Regions from separate parts of the Homo sapiens genome. Here region 1 is linked to region 2. Evidence: promoter capture Hi-C in 16 types of primary human blood cells and fetal thymus (Javierre and others, 2016). All regions are on one chromosome and are shown on one strand. Each heading gives the region's core, a stretch centred on a gene start or on the middle of the fragment in contact. The rest is flanking DNA. Distances are from core to core; before and after follow the strand shown.

Region 1 (7,512 bases), core at 2,796-5,295, 2.3 Mb before region 2:
AACTGGTGTGGAGGGGTCAACACAGAAACGCAGCAGGTGCAGGTGTCTGAGTAGGCCAGAGCTCACGTGGGCTAACATTCACTCAGACACATGACTGCAGCCGAGCAACCGGGCCTCAACGGACGCTGAGAGACGTCGGCTGGGGCCTGCACCCACACCTGCAGCCCAGGCACTGGCGCCTGCAGCCACGGCTGCAGCGAGGCGTGAGTCTCCACAGAGCTCGGAAGGCTGGGCTGGGGGACGTGGGGATCATTCTGTCCACCAGCCAAGGGGTGACGGTGGATGCCGCGCAACACAGCGAGGGGAGGATCCGGCACCCTCCCTGCGTCCACAAGCCCCTGGCGGATGCTCCTGAGCTTGGTCTTCTGTGTGGACGTTCCCACCCGGGCTTCTGTTTCCCGTTAACCCCCCTTGCTGCAGCTCCCTGCCAGGTGGGGAACCCAAGCCCTGCCTTCTCCCTGCCACTGCCCAGGGAGTGGCATCCTGGGCAGCGTCCTGGCCAAACCAAAGGCTGCAAGGGTTTTGGTGACCACTGGCCTTGGGAGGGGAACGGCACGTGCCCTGGCGGTGAGAGCAGGAGGTGCGTCAGGGACGCCCAGAGCCCAGGCTGTCACCACGCTGAAGTCAGTTCCAAGTACAGCGGGGCTGCCGCGTAGGGGACGGCGCTTTCAGCCATGCGTGGTGCCGTGTAGGGTCTGTGCGTCCACCCGAAGGACCCCGTGGGGACGCCGGACAGTGTCTGTGTGACCAGGACAGGTGAAGAGGGGCGTCTGTGTGCTGAGTCAGTGTGTGGGGAGCGGGAGAGTCACTCCCCAGGCGGGGAGGGCCAGGCTAGGCAGCACAGCTGTCCTGGGCTGGGAACAAGGTCTGAGCTGTCCTGCTGTTGCCCGGGGACAGAAGGCCCGAGAATCCCTGGGCAGGAGGCGCAGGCAGTGGCTCCGGCAAGAAGAGCTCAGCCAAGCAGCTGCACGGCCCCACTCCAGGTACATGCTGGGTCCTACAGTGAGAGCATGAGCCGTGTAACACGCCATCGTCACACGGGAGCCTCCCCGGACCCACGGTGAGAGTACGTGTAACACGCCATCGTCACACGGGAGCCTCCCCGGACCCACGGCGTGAACGCATGCTGTTCCGTTCCCAAGGCCGGCGGTCGCTGAACGCCCCCACCCCCCGAGTTTGGTTTGTCAAGGATGCCGGTGACAGGGAAGTGGGCAGTGGCAGGGAGGAGGAGGAGCTTGGGTTCACCATCGGGGCAGGCAGCACCCGCCAGGGGGTTAGTGGGAACAGAAGCCCAGGTGGGACGTCGCACAGTCAGAAGATCAAGCTCAGGAGCACCCGCCAGGGGCTCGTGGGTGCGGCCAACGTTGGCCGTGGAAGGCTGTGCCCGTCAGAGGACCCCTGAAAACAGTACCGTGCTGCCCGGCCGGGAGCGTCCGAAGGCGGAGGTGCGGCACCCCAACACGTCCAGTGGCTCCAACACGGGTGCTCCCTGACAACCCTGAGGGTGTGTCCAAGTGGGGTGGACCCAACAGACAGAGCCCACACTCATGCGCGGAGTGAAAGCAGCCAGGAAACGTCCCCTTCTCCCCCAACACCACCCCCACAAATACCCCCAAATATGCCTGTAATTCCTCCACCACCCCTCAGACAACATGCATTTCACACGTCTGTCCTCACTCCCTAAAAACGTGGAAACCTATTTTCTGTAAAATGAAGCAAACTTCTGTAAACGGAATTCATGATTTCCCAGAAACTGACTTTTTAAAAATAAACAGTCCTCACAGGTGCATCGTCACCACAGCCCCCCACAGAAGAGCCAGGGCCCCACTGCAGGGCTGAAGGGCTTCCTCATCCAGCCACGTGCGAGCTAATCACCTCATTGACTCTGCGACCAGCGAGCCCGCACCGCCCAGCACCTCCCACCATCTAGAGCAAATCCCGCACGAGGCTGATCTCGCTCTTCGCAGGTTAAGAGGATTTTAAAGACACCAGCCTCGCCCTTACCCACTTACAGGCAAAATGTCAAAACCTGGAAGACAGAGGTCAAAAACTCCGAAGGAGTGCAAAAGTTGATGTGAGATCTTACAGAAAAAATTTCAATTAAAATATCAACAGAAAGAAGTGGGTCTTCCTCCCCCTTCAAGCAGGATGCCTTGGTTCACCTTGATGTTAGGCCACTAGTTCCAGACTCCTGGAACTGAGTTTGAAAAGCGCGTCTGATGTGCCACGTGGGTGTGAGGCGCCCGCCACGCACACCCTGTCTGGATGAAATTCGGATCAGATTCGGCCGCAGCCAAACCCTAAATTCTCAAATTATACTGGGATTGTCACAGGAAGACTCTTACACGTTTAAATCACATGGTACTCGTAAAACTAACTCATACAATATACACGGGGTACAGACACAAATTTTACTTCCCTGAGCACTTATGAGAACTGAGATTAAATTTCAAAGCCAGCTGGGGTGGAGGCTCACGCCCCTACTCCCAGCACTTTGGAAGGCCCAGGTGGGCGATCACCTGAGGTCAGGAGTTCAAGACCAGCCTGGCCAACATGGTGAAACCCCGTCCCTACTAAAAATGCAAAAATTAGCCCTACTCGGGAGGCTGAAGCAGGAAAATCACTTGAACCCAGGAGGTGGAGGTTGCAGTGAGCCGAGATAGCGCCGCTGCACTCCAGCCTGGGAAACAGAGAGGCTTCGTCTCAAATAAATAAATATAAATAAATAAATTTCAAAGCCACTGAGTTACTGAATAAAACCACGCTGCATAAATAGTCCGGTATGTGAGTGATATCTCAACCGACTCTTAAGTTAGCCAGTGGGAAGGAATGCTGGGTATTGCAATAACGCCGGGAAAGTTTCACCCACCCGACGCCTTTACGAAGGGTGAAGGAGTTTCCCGATGTTTATTACCAGCAATGCAAGGTATATTTAAATTAAAAATCTGTCTGCAGCGAACACTCCCAGGCGCTGACGGCTCTCACCCGCCTTGGTTGATCACAGCAAGGCGCGCACTCACAGCCAAAACTCCCGGGAAAGGAGCGAGTGCTCTTTTCAAAGCCCGGTTTTCCTAACAAGCTTGGCACCGCTTCCCACAGAGCAGCACCCGGTTTTCGGCGGCGTGCGGCCCGAGCGGGTCCCCTGCGCCCACAACTGGCCCTGTAAATCTGGCGTTTGGGCCCCGCCACGCAACAACGGGTGCACGGCCAGCAGCGGCGAGCGGGGGCCCACGCGGGGCCGGGAGGGCAGGGCTCGCCGGGCCGGGAGGCCTCGCCCGGTGTCGGGCAGCCGCGGGGCGCGCGGGGCTGACCTGCTGGAAGGCCTTCAGCCGCTTCTTGAACCGAGAGGGCAGCACGAAGTCGCAGCCGCGGGCCAGTGAGGCCAGCTCCTGGCGCAGGTCGGGGTCCTGGCGCAGCGAGCGCTCGCGGAGTCGCATGCCGCCGGCGCGCAGGGCTCTCCGCGGGCCGGGCCGGGCGCCGCGCTCTCGGGGCAGGGCCGGGCCGGGGCCGGCGGGGCGCTGCAGGCGTGGCCCGGGCTCAGCGCGCTCCATGCGTCGCCCGCCAGGCGCTCTGGGGCCGGGGCCCGCGCCGCGCGCATTCCTCAGGCTGAGGAGGGCGCATGGCGCCGGGGGTGGGGGCGGCCGCCTCTCCCGACCCGCGACTGTGCAGACCCGGCTGCTCCCGGCGCTGCTCTCCTCTCCTCCTTCTCCGCTCCCTGCACTGCCCTCCGCTCCCTCCGGTCCTCTTCTCTCCTCTCCCCGTTCGCTCCGGGCTGGGCCGTCCGGCCGGGCAAGGGGGCGCTTTCTGCACCGCGGCAGCCGTCACGTGGCTCGCCCTGGAGCGCGCATCAACAGGTCCCCGAGAGGAGAGCCTGGGCGGAACGCGCATCAACAGGTCCCCGAGAGGAGAGCCTGGGCGGAACGCGCATCAACAGGTCCCCGAGAAGAGAGCCTGGGGACGGCCTCGGGGACCCAGGCGAAGGCGCTCCCCGCGAGAAGTGAGGTCCCCCCCCTCCACGACAACACCAGAGCTGGCTGCAGGCTCGGTGCCGACTCCGGCTTGCCCCTCCAGAGCACAGGGCACGCCAGGTGCAGCTGCGCCTCCACAAACACGCACGGCAGCCCAGACATCCCGGCAGCCCGGCATCAAAGCGCGCCGGCATCTCCGCCCCTCCCCAAACTTCAGGAGTTTCTAGAATACAGCTAAGCTGCAGTGGGCATCCAGGATCTCGTCTTCTCTGCCACTGCTCACTGTGATAACTGCGCTTGTTTGCAATCGTATTTAGAACAAGAAAAGAGGGGCGGTGGAAAAGGGGGACGGGCAACTTTAAATGAGGGTGAGCTGACATTCCGGGGGCCTGCACCTCGATCCCACCGGGAAGGAGACAGGATACCTTCGGGCTGAGGGTCAGAAACTGGCCACATCCCTGCCAGGCTGAACGCTGTCAGCAGAAAGCCTCCCGGGTCCCCGATCAGGAAGGTCCTGCGTGACCGCCTGCATCTGTTACAGTCAATAAACCTCCTTGGACGGGTCACTATCACCCCGAGTCAACAGCGTGCACTGGGCTCTCCCGCTGCCGCACGCTCTGTTGAGTCTGGAAAAACGCAGGATGACACGGATCTACCACTGTGGGGTCACGCAGAGGAGTTTCCCTGCCCTGAAAAACGTCTGTGTGGCACTGACGCACCCAACCCCCGCAAGCCCCGATCTGTTTCCTGTCTCCATCGTTTTCCTTTTTCCGAGTGTCCTAGACTTGGAACCAGAAGTCTGCAGCCATCTCAGACTGGCCTTTTCTTCTCCTGCAACCTTCCACACCACCTCTGACGCCCACCACAGCCCCCCACCCGCAAGGCCCCTTCCAACTCTTCTTAGGGGTACGCCCCTCTCCACTTCCTTCTCTTCCACCTCCTTCCCTTCTCCAGCCATCCTCGGATCCCTCCATCCTTCTCACTTCCTTACTGTCCTTGAGGATTCAGAAGTCGGCCTCTGACCCCCGGTAAGTCTCCAAAGGGAAGCTTTAAGACAGCACCAGAGGGAATGTGCTCAAACCACCAGGAGACGATTTAAACAAGTGCACCCAGTAACCCACGATGCGGGGCGCAAACTCACAGGGCAGAGGTGCCGCCCAGTCACCCACGATGCGGGGCGCAAACTCACAGGGCAGAGGTGCTGCCCAGTCACCCACGATGCAGGATGCAAACTCACAGGGCAGAGGTGCCGCCCAGTCACCCACGATGCAGGATGCAAACTCACAGGGCAGAGGTGCGGCCCAGTAACCCATGATGTGGGGCACAAACTCACAGGGCAGAGGTGCCGTCCCGTCACCCACGATGCGGGGCGCAAACTCACAGGACAGAGGTGCCGCCCAGTCACCCACGATGTGGGGCGCAAACTCACAGGGCAGAGGTGCCGCCCCTTCAGTTCATATCAGCACTACACACGGACGGCCTCCCAAACGCAGCTAGGGGAACCAGATTGGGAGCCAACCTCCTGTGATCTCCCTCCGAAAGTCAAAGATCAAACCCAAAATGCGGGGGAAGCGAGCCAACGGGCGCGATCCTCACACTCAGGCAACATGCCCTGTCCTGCCACGCCAGGTGACACACGCCCTGTCCTGCCACGGCGGGTGACACACACCCCTGTGGACTTTACTGCCAGGTTTCCTCTTTCCGTACAAGACTTTTGGAACACAGCCAGGCACAGTGGCTCATGCCTGTAATCCCAGCACTTTGGGAGGTCAAGGCAGGCAGATCATGAGGTCAGGAGTTCGAGACCAGCCAGGCCAACATGGTGAAACCCTGTCTCTACTAAAAATACAAAATTAGCTGGGCATGGTGGCGGGTGCCTGTCATCCCAGCTACTTGGGAGGCTGAGGGAGAAGAATCGCTTGAACTCAGAAGGCAGAGGTTGCAGTGAGCCGAGATTGCGCCACTGCACTGCAGCCTGGGGGACAAGAGCGAGACTTCGTCTCAAAAAGGAAAAAAAAAAAAAAAAGACTTTTGGAAAACAGCCTCAAAATCCTGAAGTGCACACATAGGCAGAGATTTAGACTCTGACCTGGAGCCCTCGAACCACCTCTGGATGCAGTCCCACTGCCCCCCTGGAGCCCTTGCGTCCTGTCCCGATGCAGAACCCGCACCACCCGCCCCCAGTGCAGCCACAGGGCTGTCTACACCGGATGGGGGAGGGACAGGGCTGTCCACACTCGACAGAGCCCCCATGGGGCCATCCACTACCGTGTACAGGGACGGGCCGTCCACAGTGGGGCCGCCATGGGGCTGTCTATACACTACTGTATGCAGGGACGGGCCGTCCACACCCAGTGGGGCCGCCATGGGGCTGTCTATACACTACTGTATGCAGGGACGGGCCGTCCACACCCAGTGGGGCCGCCATGGGGCTGTCTATACACTACTGTATGCAGGGACGGGCCATCCACACCCAGTGGGGCCACCATGGGGCTGTCTATACACTACTGTGTACAGGGACGGGCCGTCCACACCCAGTGGGGCCACCATGGGGCTGTCTATACACTACTGTGTACAGGGACGGGCCGTCCACAGTGGGGCCGCCATGGGGCTGTCTATACACTACTGTATACAGGGACGGGCCGTCCACAGTGGGGCCGCCATGGGGCTGTCTATACACTACTGTATGCAGGGACGGGCCGTCCACACCCAGTGGGGCCGCCATGGGGCTGTCTATACACTACTGTATGCAGGGACGGGCCGTCCACACCCAGTGGGGCCGCCATGGGGCTGTCTATACACTACTGTATGCAGGGACGGGCCGTCCACACCCAGTGGGGCCGCCATGGGGCTGTCTATACACTACTGTGTACAGGGACGGGCCGTCCACACCCAGTGGGGCCACCATGGGGCTGTCTATACACTACTGTATGCAGGGACGGGCCGTCCACAGTGGGGCCGCCATGGGGCTGTCTATACACTACTGTGTACAGGGACGGGCCGTCCACACCCAGTGGGGCCACCATGGGGCTGTCTATACACTACTGTATGCAGGGACGGGCCGTCCACAGTGGGGCCGCCATGGGGCTGTCTATACACTACTGTGTACAGGGACGGGCCGTCCACACCCAGTGGGGCCGCCATGGGGCTGTCTATACACTACTGTATGCAGGGACGGGCCGTCCACAGTGGGGCCGCCATGGGGCTGTCTATACACTACTGTGTACAGGGACGGGCCGTCCACACCCAGTGGGGCCACCATGGGGCTGTCTATACACTACTGTGTACAGGGACGGGCCGTCCACAGTGGGGCCGCCATGGGGCTGTCTATACACTACTGTGTACAGGGACGGGCCGTCCACACCCAGTGGGGCCACCATGGGGCTGTCTATACACTACTGTGTACAGGGACGGGCCGTCTACAGTGGGGCCGCCATGGGGCTGTCTATACACTACTGTATGCAGGGACGGGCCGTCCACACCCAGTGGGGCCGCCATGGGGCTGTCTATACACTACTGTGTACAGGGACGGGCCGTCCACACC
Region 2 (7,076 bases), core at 3,279-5,778:
GGCACCTGGATACAATTCAGAAGGCTTTTTCAATTAATTTAATTTTCATTCTGGAGGTTACGGCCTCTTGGTGCCAGTTCCAGAGGGTCTGCAGAATATTATGGAAATTCATATTTGGAGCCAAAGAATGGCAGCGTTAAAAAAAAATAAAGAAAAAAGGCAAAAGGCATCTAACTAAATGAATTAGAAACAGAAGTCTTCCAAATGCTTACCTGTGAGAACATAGATAAAAAGCCTCAAAGCCTGGCTTTCAGAAGCTGATGTTGCATCTTTATTATGGCTGGCGAGAATGACCTGCGCCCTCCCTGAAAGGCAGCCAGAGTCTAGACTCTACTGGAACATAATGGACAGTCAGAGGAGGGAAGCTTCACCTGCAGTGCCGTCCAAATGTCAGAGGCTGGAGATGGTCCAGGGGAGGGCCTTTCTTTTGGCGGTAATGGGGGTGAAGCAGGAAGCTCACAGGGAGAGGGGTGTTTGGAGTGTGAGACAGCAGGAAGACCCTGCGTTCTTTTTATCTCTGCTTCATCCCAAGTCAGACTTGCCTCAGGATGCCAAAATGCCCGGGCAGCTCCAGCATCCTCTTGCTCCTCAAAATGAGCCCCCAGGGTCCTCCTACTTGCCCTGACCTAGGATCCACACCCTCCCTTGACCCCAGCCCAGGACTGTGGCCAGGGAAAAAGAAAGTGCTAATTGATAGAGAGTCAATGCCACGTGGGGAGGTCGGGGGAGAGGTGCAGGAGAAAATACCAGAGAAGGAGCTCTGGTTGGGTAGTTCATCCGGGTTCACTCCAAGAGGTAACACTTTAAAGGTGGTGTTCCCATGAAGAACGATTACATTTTCCTCATACTTCTAAAGTGCAATTATGTTGCTGGGGTTTTGCTGGCCGAAAAGAAAACGAAAAAGAAAAGAAAAAACCTTCCGGTGTGCAAGCTCACACTGTTACTTTTTAAGATGTGCATCACTCACACCACCGAGCTCACATTGCTGAGCAGGTCTCTGGGGCACAGGCCCAGCCCCTCTAGCCTTGCAGGTTTCTGACCTAGGGGTGCAGGTGACCTAGGGAGGGGTGGGTATGGCCGCAGGCAGGGGATAGCTCAAGACCATTTGACCCAGCAATCCCATTACTAGGTATATACCCAAACGATTATAAATCATTCTACTATAAAGACACATGCACACGTATGTTTTTGCAGCACTAGTCACAATAGCAAAGACTTGGAACCAACCCAAATGTCCATCAATAATAGACTGGATAAAGAAAATGTGGCACATATACACCATGGAATATACGCAGCCATAAAAAAGGATGAGTTCATGTCCTTTGCAGGGACACGGATGAAGCTGGAAACCATCATTCTCAGCAAACTATCACAGGAACAGAAAACCAAACACCGCATGTTCTCACTTATAAGTGGGAGTTGAACAATGAGAACACATGGACACAGGGAGGGGAACATCACACACCAGGGCCTGTTGGGGGGTGGGGTGCAATGGGAGAGAGAGCATTAGGAGAAATACCTAATGTAGATGATGGGTTGATGGGTGCAGCAAACCACTATGGCGTGTGTATACCTATGTAACAAAACTGCACGTTCTGCACATGTACCCCAGAACTTTTTTTTTTTTTTTTTGAGACGGAGTCTTGCTCAGTCGCCCAGGCTGGAGTGCAGTGCCACGATCTCGGCTCACTGCAAGCTCTGCCTCCCGGGTTCACGCCATTCTTCTGCCTCAGTCTCCTGAGTAGCTGGGACTACAGGCGCCCGCCACCACGCCCGGCTAATTTTTTTTTGTATTTTTAGTAGAGATGGGGTTTCACCATGTTAGCCAGGATGGTCTCAATCTCCTGACCTCGTGATCCACCTGCCTCGGCCTTCCAAAGTGCTGGGATTACAGGCGTGAGCCACCGCGCCCAGCCTGTACCCCAGAACTTAAAGTATAATAATAACAATAATAAAAAGACAGGTGTTATCTCAGAGCCCCTGACTCAGTCGGCTGGGCAGCAAGTATGCCAGCCCAGGAATGGGCCAATAGATGAGGCAGGGCTTTGTAAACCAAAAATAAAATTCTTTAAGAGGCTGGAGTGGGTGGATCACTTGAGGTCAGGAGTTCCAGACTAGCCTGGCCAACATGGCGAAACCCCATCTCTACTAAAAATATAAAAATTAGCCAGGCGTGGTAGCAGGTGCCTGTAATCCCAGCTACTCAGGAGGCTGAGGCAGGAGAATCGTTTGAACCTGGGAGGTGGAGGTTGCAGTTAGTTGAGATGGTGCCACAGCACTCTAGCCTGGCCGAGAGAGTAAGACTCCGTCTCAAAAACTAAATAAATTAATAAAATAAAATAAAATTCTAAGCCCCCACCGCCCCCCACCTTCAAAACATCTGAATGGACTTCTTCCTCAGCCAGAGCTCTTTAAAAATTTAACCTGAGAGAGTGTTTCAAGCCGTGACGGGAAGCAGGGGTTGAACATGCCTCCCGGTGCCTCTCCGGCGTTAACATCCACACAGCCTTTAAGTTTGAGAAGAAACATTTTACAACCTCTTCTCTCTGACCCTAGCACCGGAAGGGTTCCTGTTCAAATAAGAACTTGAGTCTTCACAATTCTTTATCTTAACCCAGACATTCTTTTCTATTGATCCCAGGACTTTAAAGAAACCCAAGCAATTGCCAATCAGAAAATTCTAAAATCTACCTATAAGCTGGAAGCCTCCTGCTTTGGGTTGTCCCGCCTTTCTGGACAAAACCAATGTGTCTCTTAAATTTCATTGATGTCTCATGCCTCCCTAAAACGTATAACACCAAGCTGCACCCCGACCACCTTGAGGACACGTTCTCGGGACCTCCTGAGGGCTGTGTCATGGGCCATGGTCACTCATATTTGGCTCAGAATAAATCTCTTCAAATATGTTAGAGTTGGACTCCTTTCTCTTTTTTTCTTTTTTCTTTCTTTTTTTTTGAGACGGAGTCTCGCTCTGTCACCCAGGCTGGAGTGCAGTGGCCTGATCTTGGCTCACTGCAACCTCCATCTCCCCGGTTCAAGCGATTCTCTTGCCTCGGCCTCCTGAGTAGCTGGGACTACAGGTGCACACCACCACACGCGTCTAATTTTGTATTTTAGAAGAGACAGGGTTTCACCTTGTTGGTCAGGCTGGTCTCCAATTCCTGACCTCAGGTGATCCACCCGCCTCGGTCTCCCAAAGCGCTGGGATTCCAGGCGTGAGCCACCGCGCCCGGCCTAGTTTGACTCTTTTCGTGGACAGTTTGAAGTGTGGAATGCAAGAATATTCAGGGTTATTTGTCAGGCTGCAAAGTTGTTCCACTACCCTGCGGGAAAATGGATACAATTTTAGGCTTAGGTGTTAACAGATAACATTGTTAAGTGTGGGAAGGGCGACAACTGCACTGCAGCTGTGGCCAGTGGCGCGGGAGGGTGTCTAAACTCAAAGCCCACTGGAAGGCGAGTCGCCCATGACCAGGACTAGGGCCCAGGTGCCCCAGATAGAAGGCACCTCGTTCCCTATTGCCCCTCACTAACTCCCGTGACCAGGAGTCCCCACTCCCAACCTTGTCCTGGGGATTCTGGGGAGAAACTGCCCCAGCGCAGAGGCTACTCCAAGGGTTGTCCTTGGTCCGGCGCAAAGGGTTCGTCCGCCACCCTCCCGGCTGCGCACCCCGCGCTCGGACGCTCTAGAAAGGACTTGGGACGGGGGTTGCCTGTGGAGCGGGGGCCTAGGCTTCCTGAGCAGGGAGAGGATTGCACTTTGCTCCCCTTGGGGAACTCCCTGAGGTGAGCAGCGGGGAGGGGCCCCCATACTTTTCCCAGCAGGGGAGCCGGGAGTTTCCTCTGCTCCCACTGCAGAGCAGGGGAGGGTCCCTGCTAGGGGCGGAGAAGGGGCTGCAGGGGCGAGTGGGGAGGGGGGCTACACGTTTCCAAGAAGGGCGGCAGTTTCGTGTCGCTACAGTTGCAGGCGTGCATTTAGGAGGCTGTAGACAGGGAGGGACCCGCACTTTCCCGAGCAGGGGAGCTGCTGGGAAAGTTTGTTTTTTTGCTCCCACTGGAGACCAGGGGGTGAGGGGCGGAGAAGTGGCTGCAGGGGCGAGTGGGGAGAGGGGGCTCTATGTTTCCAAGAAGGGCGGCAGTTTTGTGCCACTACAGTTAAGGGCCGCCCTCGGGCGTGCATTCAGAGGGCTGTAAACCGGGAGGGACCCGCACTTTCCCGAGAACGTTGTAGTTCACTTTGCTTCGGGTCGGCGCCGCCCTGGCTACGGCCCTGTGGGTGGGTGAGGGGGCGTGGGCAGTTTCCTGAGAAGGGGCGGGGCGTGTACCGTACTCCCCTCGGCGCTGCCTGGGCCACCCCCGCCCGCCTACCCCCTCTGTCTCCTCCCCGGGCCCGGCGTTCCCGCCCCTTCTGTGCGCGCGTGGAGGCCGGGGCGGGGCGGGCGCAGCCGGCGCTGAGCTTGCAGGGCCGCTCCCCTCACCCGCCCCCTTCGAGTCCCCGGGCTTCGCCCCACCCGGCCCGTGGGGGAGTATCTGTCCTGCCGCCTTCGCCCACGCCCTGCACTCCGGGACCGTCCCTGCGCGCTCTGGGCGCACCATGGCCCGCGGGGCTGCGCTGGCGCTGCTGCTCTTCGGCCTGCTGGGTGTTCTGGTCGCCGCCCCGGGTGAGCGAGCGGAGGGATCCGGGTTGGGGGACGCGGAGGGCGCGGGCCGGGACTGGGGATCCGCTTGAGATGCGGCGTTGGGGGCGCCCCGCGGGGACACCCGGAGCCTCCTCCCTGCCCGGCAGGACGCGCTGTGCCCACGGGGGCCCAGGCCCGGAGGAGGCGCCCACTTTCTCCCCAACGCTTTTCCTGGAGCCGTTCCAGAGAGAAAAGTCAGCGTTTGTTGTCGGAGTTGCAAACTCTTACATGTGGGGCGGCCTTGGGAGAGGTGCGTCCGATTTTTCCCAATCTAGGGGACCTTCTTACAGATCTCTCTCCCTTTGCATGAGCCCCTCACCCCACCCCGTTATCTACCCCCAGGGTTTGGGGACCTGCGTCTTCAGGCCGCGCGCGGAGGCCGCCCTGGAGTTGCCTGTCACAGCCACGCCCTGCGTCCCGGGCCTAAATTTGGAATCGCTAGGAGCCTGAGACCCGGGTGGTGGGGGGAAGGGAAGGAAAAGTTAGAAAAAAACTTTGAGCCCTGAAAATGTTCAAAAATACTCTGTGGATGCGGGCTCCGGGAATTTCAGCGCGTGCTGTGCGCCAAGCAACACGGGGCGCAGAAAGAAACGTGTGCTTACCAAATTGTCCATCTGCGGCGGTGGAGAATTCGGAAAACAGAAAAAGTGGGCAGGGAAGAAAGAGCCACGGTCACCCTCCCACGCCCTAAACCGGGCCTATTTCTAATTATTACTTTAATCATGTTTTTCTGTTTCCCTCCCTTTGAAACGGAAACGGAGACCCTGCCGGATGTGGTATGTTATAAATTCTTTTTTCATGTTATAAATTCTTTTTTCAATGGTCAGTGCATTTTTTGCTCTTCGTATGGGCAGGCTTTTAAGTAGACCGGCTTGCGGGCAGTGTGGACTTCAGGACGGGCCTTATCAGGGCTGGACGTATTTAGGAAGGAGACGCGGGAACGCCCGGCCCTGGGGAGGACGGAGGAGGCCCGATTTGTGTTGATAGGATCTAGCTCAGCCTAGAGCTGCGGTGACTAGGCCGGGTCTCTATTTTTAGGGAGGAGTTGCTAATGGATTTACACCCTCTTTAAAGGGGTCCCGGGTATCCTAGAAATTGTGCTTTCACTTGGTAGAGATTAGAGATAATGAAGCCTGCTCCGTAGAGGAAAACTTGGAGGACTTTCCAGCCTGCAGGGGAGGTTCCAAGCAGAGCTTCCTGTTTCTCCCTTTTCTTCCTAAATGTCCTTCTTGCGGGCAACCTGTCACCACGGACGGGATGGCTCTGTAGGGTTTTATCAGCTGCATTTGTTCCCCAGGCACCTGCAGATGAACGGGTTTTTCACTTGTCTCTCTGCGAATGCATTCCTTCATCCTTCATGCCTGCCTTCCTTCTTTTGCACCTACTGTGGGCTTGGGGTCAGGGAAATATATCCAAGGGAGTGCTGGTGGCCTAAGAATTCAGTTTCCTGGAGAACAGAGGCATCTGAACAGGCAGACGGGAGACAGGGCCACAGGGACCTTTATAGTTCCATCACGAAATAACTCAGGGGTTCCCAGTGGTAAATCTTGGTGAGGGGCTTGGCTGGATTTTGAAGCCCTAGGGACAGATTTGCCGGCTGGTCTGGCGTTCCAGGTCATTGGAGCAGAGTGAGTGGAAAGCCTTATATTCTCTAAGCCCCAAACAAGTCGTTGCACAGTTTTTTTGTTTTTGTTGGTGGTGGTGGTTTTTTTTTTTTGGACGGAGTTTCACTCTGTCACCAGTCTGGAGTGTAGTGGCACGATGTCGGCTCATTGGCGTTGCACAGTTTTTAAACCCACAGCAGTGTTCATCTGGAACTCCTGATTTTGGAAGCAGACTGGGCTTAGGAACTCCAGCTGCTGATGCTTTGAGTAAAGGGAAGAGTACCTGTCTATGGGGTGGGTGGGTAGGGAAGAGCAGTGGGATAGGGGCATAACAGGGGCCAACCTATCCTTCCAATTGCAGAGGAGGGCCTGGCCGTCAGCACTGATGGATCTCCTTGAGGGACGCTTCTCACCCCTTCTTTGCAGTCTGACCCTGCTAGAGATGGAGACAGAAACAGCCTGTCCCAATAATATTAATACACGTTTCATCGGGAAAGTTGACTTTTGAGTTGGTGATGCTCAGAACACACTTTCTTATAGCAACGTGCATCAGGCTGCAAAACCCCGTTGAGCCTGAAGTAGGTTCTCAGACTGGTGCTGATAGCTCTGGCCTGATCTCAGAGTGTTGGGGACCCTGTGTTCCTTGGTTCCTTCATAAATTCTCAGGGGTACAGGTGGGATGTGGTGAGGGATGGATGGACAGAGGGAGGTGTATAGAGGAAAAGAGGAGGCTTCAGCTTTGTAGAGAGCAGGATGTCCCCACAGGGCGACGTTGGCCCCGAGGAGACACTTT

Evidence for each region. The method cuts DNA at HindIII sites, captures the fragments that hold promoters and counts their contacts. A CHiCAGO score of 5 or more calls a contact.
Region 1: a fragment that was not itself captured here is called in contact with the fragment with the promoter of CD99 in region 2 in 1 of 17 cell types (fetal thymus); the score reaches 5.9 in fetal thymus.

The regions. Positions count from the first base shown.
Region 1 is chrX:370,221-377,732 of GRCh38, forward strand. All of the region lies in intron 1 of PPP2R3B (protein phosphatase 2 regulatory subunit B''beta), which reads right to left. Among named protein-coding and RNA genes, the nearest start is that of PPP2R3B, 13 kb to the right of the region's middle. RefSeq lists a silencer at 2,753-2,935 and an enhancer at 4,930-5,820. The HindIII fragment of the contact is 1,936 bases long and covers 3,078-5,013 here.
Region 2 is chrX:2,686,767-2,693,842 of GRCh38, forward strand. CD99 (CD99 molecule (Xg blood group)) reads left to right here and starts at 4,529. Exons shown (of 10, transcript NM_002414.5): 1 at 4,529-4,661. The coding sequence starts at 4,595. The HindIII fragment of the contact is 9,076 bases long and covers 364-7,076 here.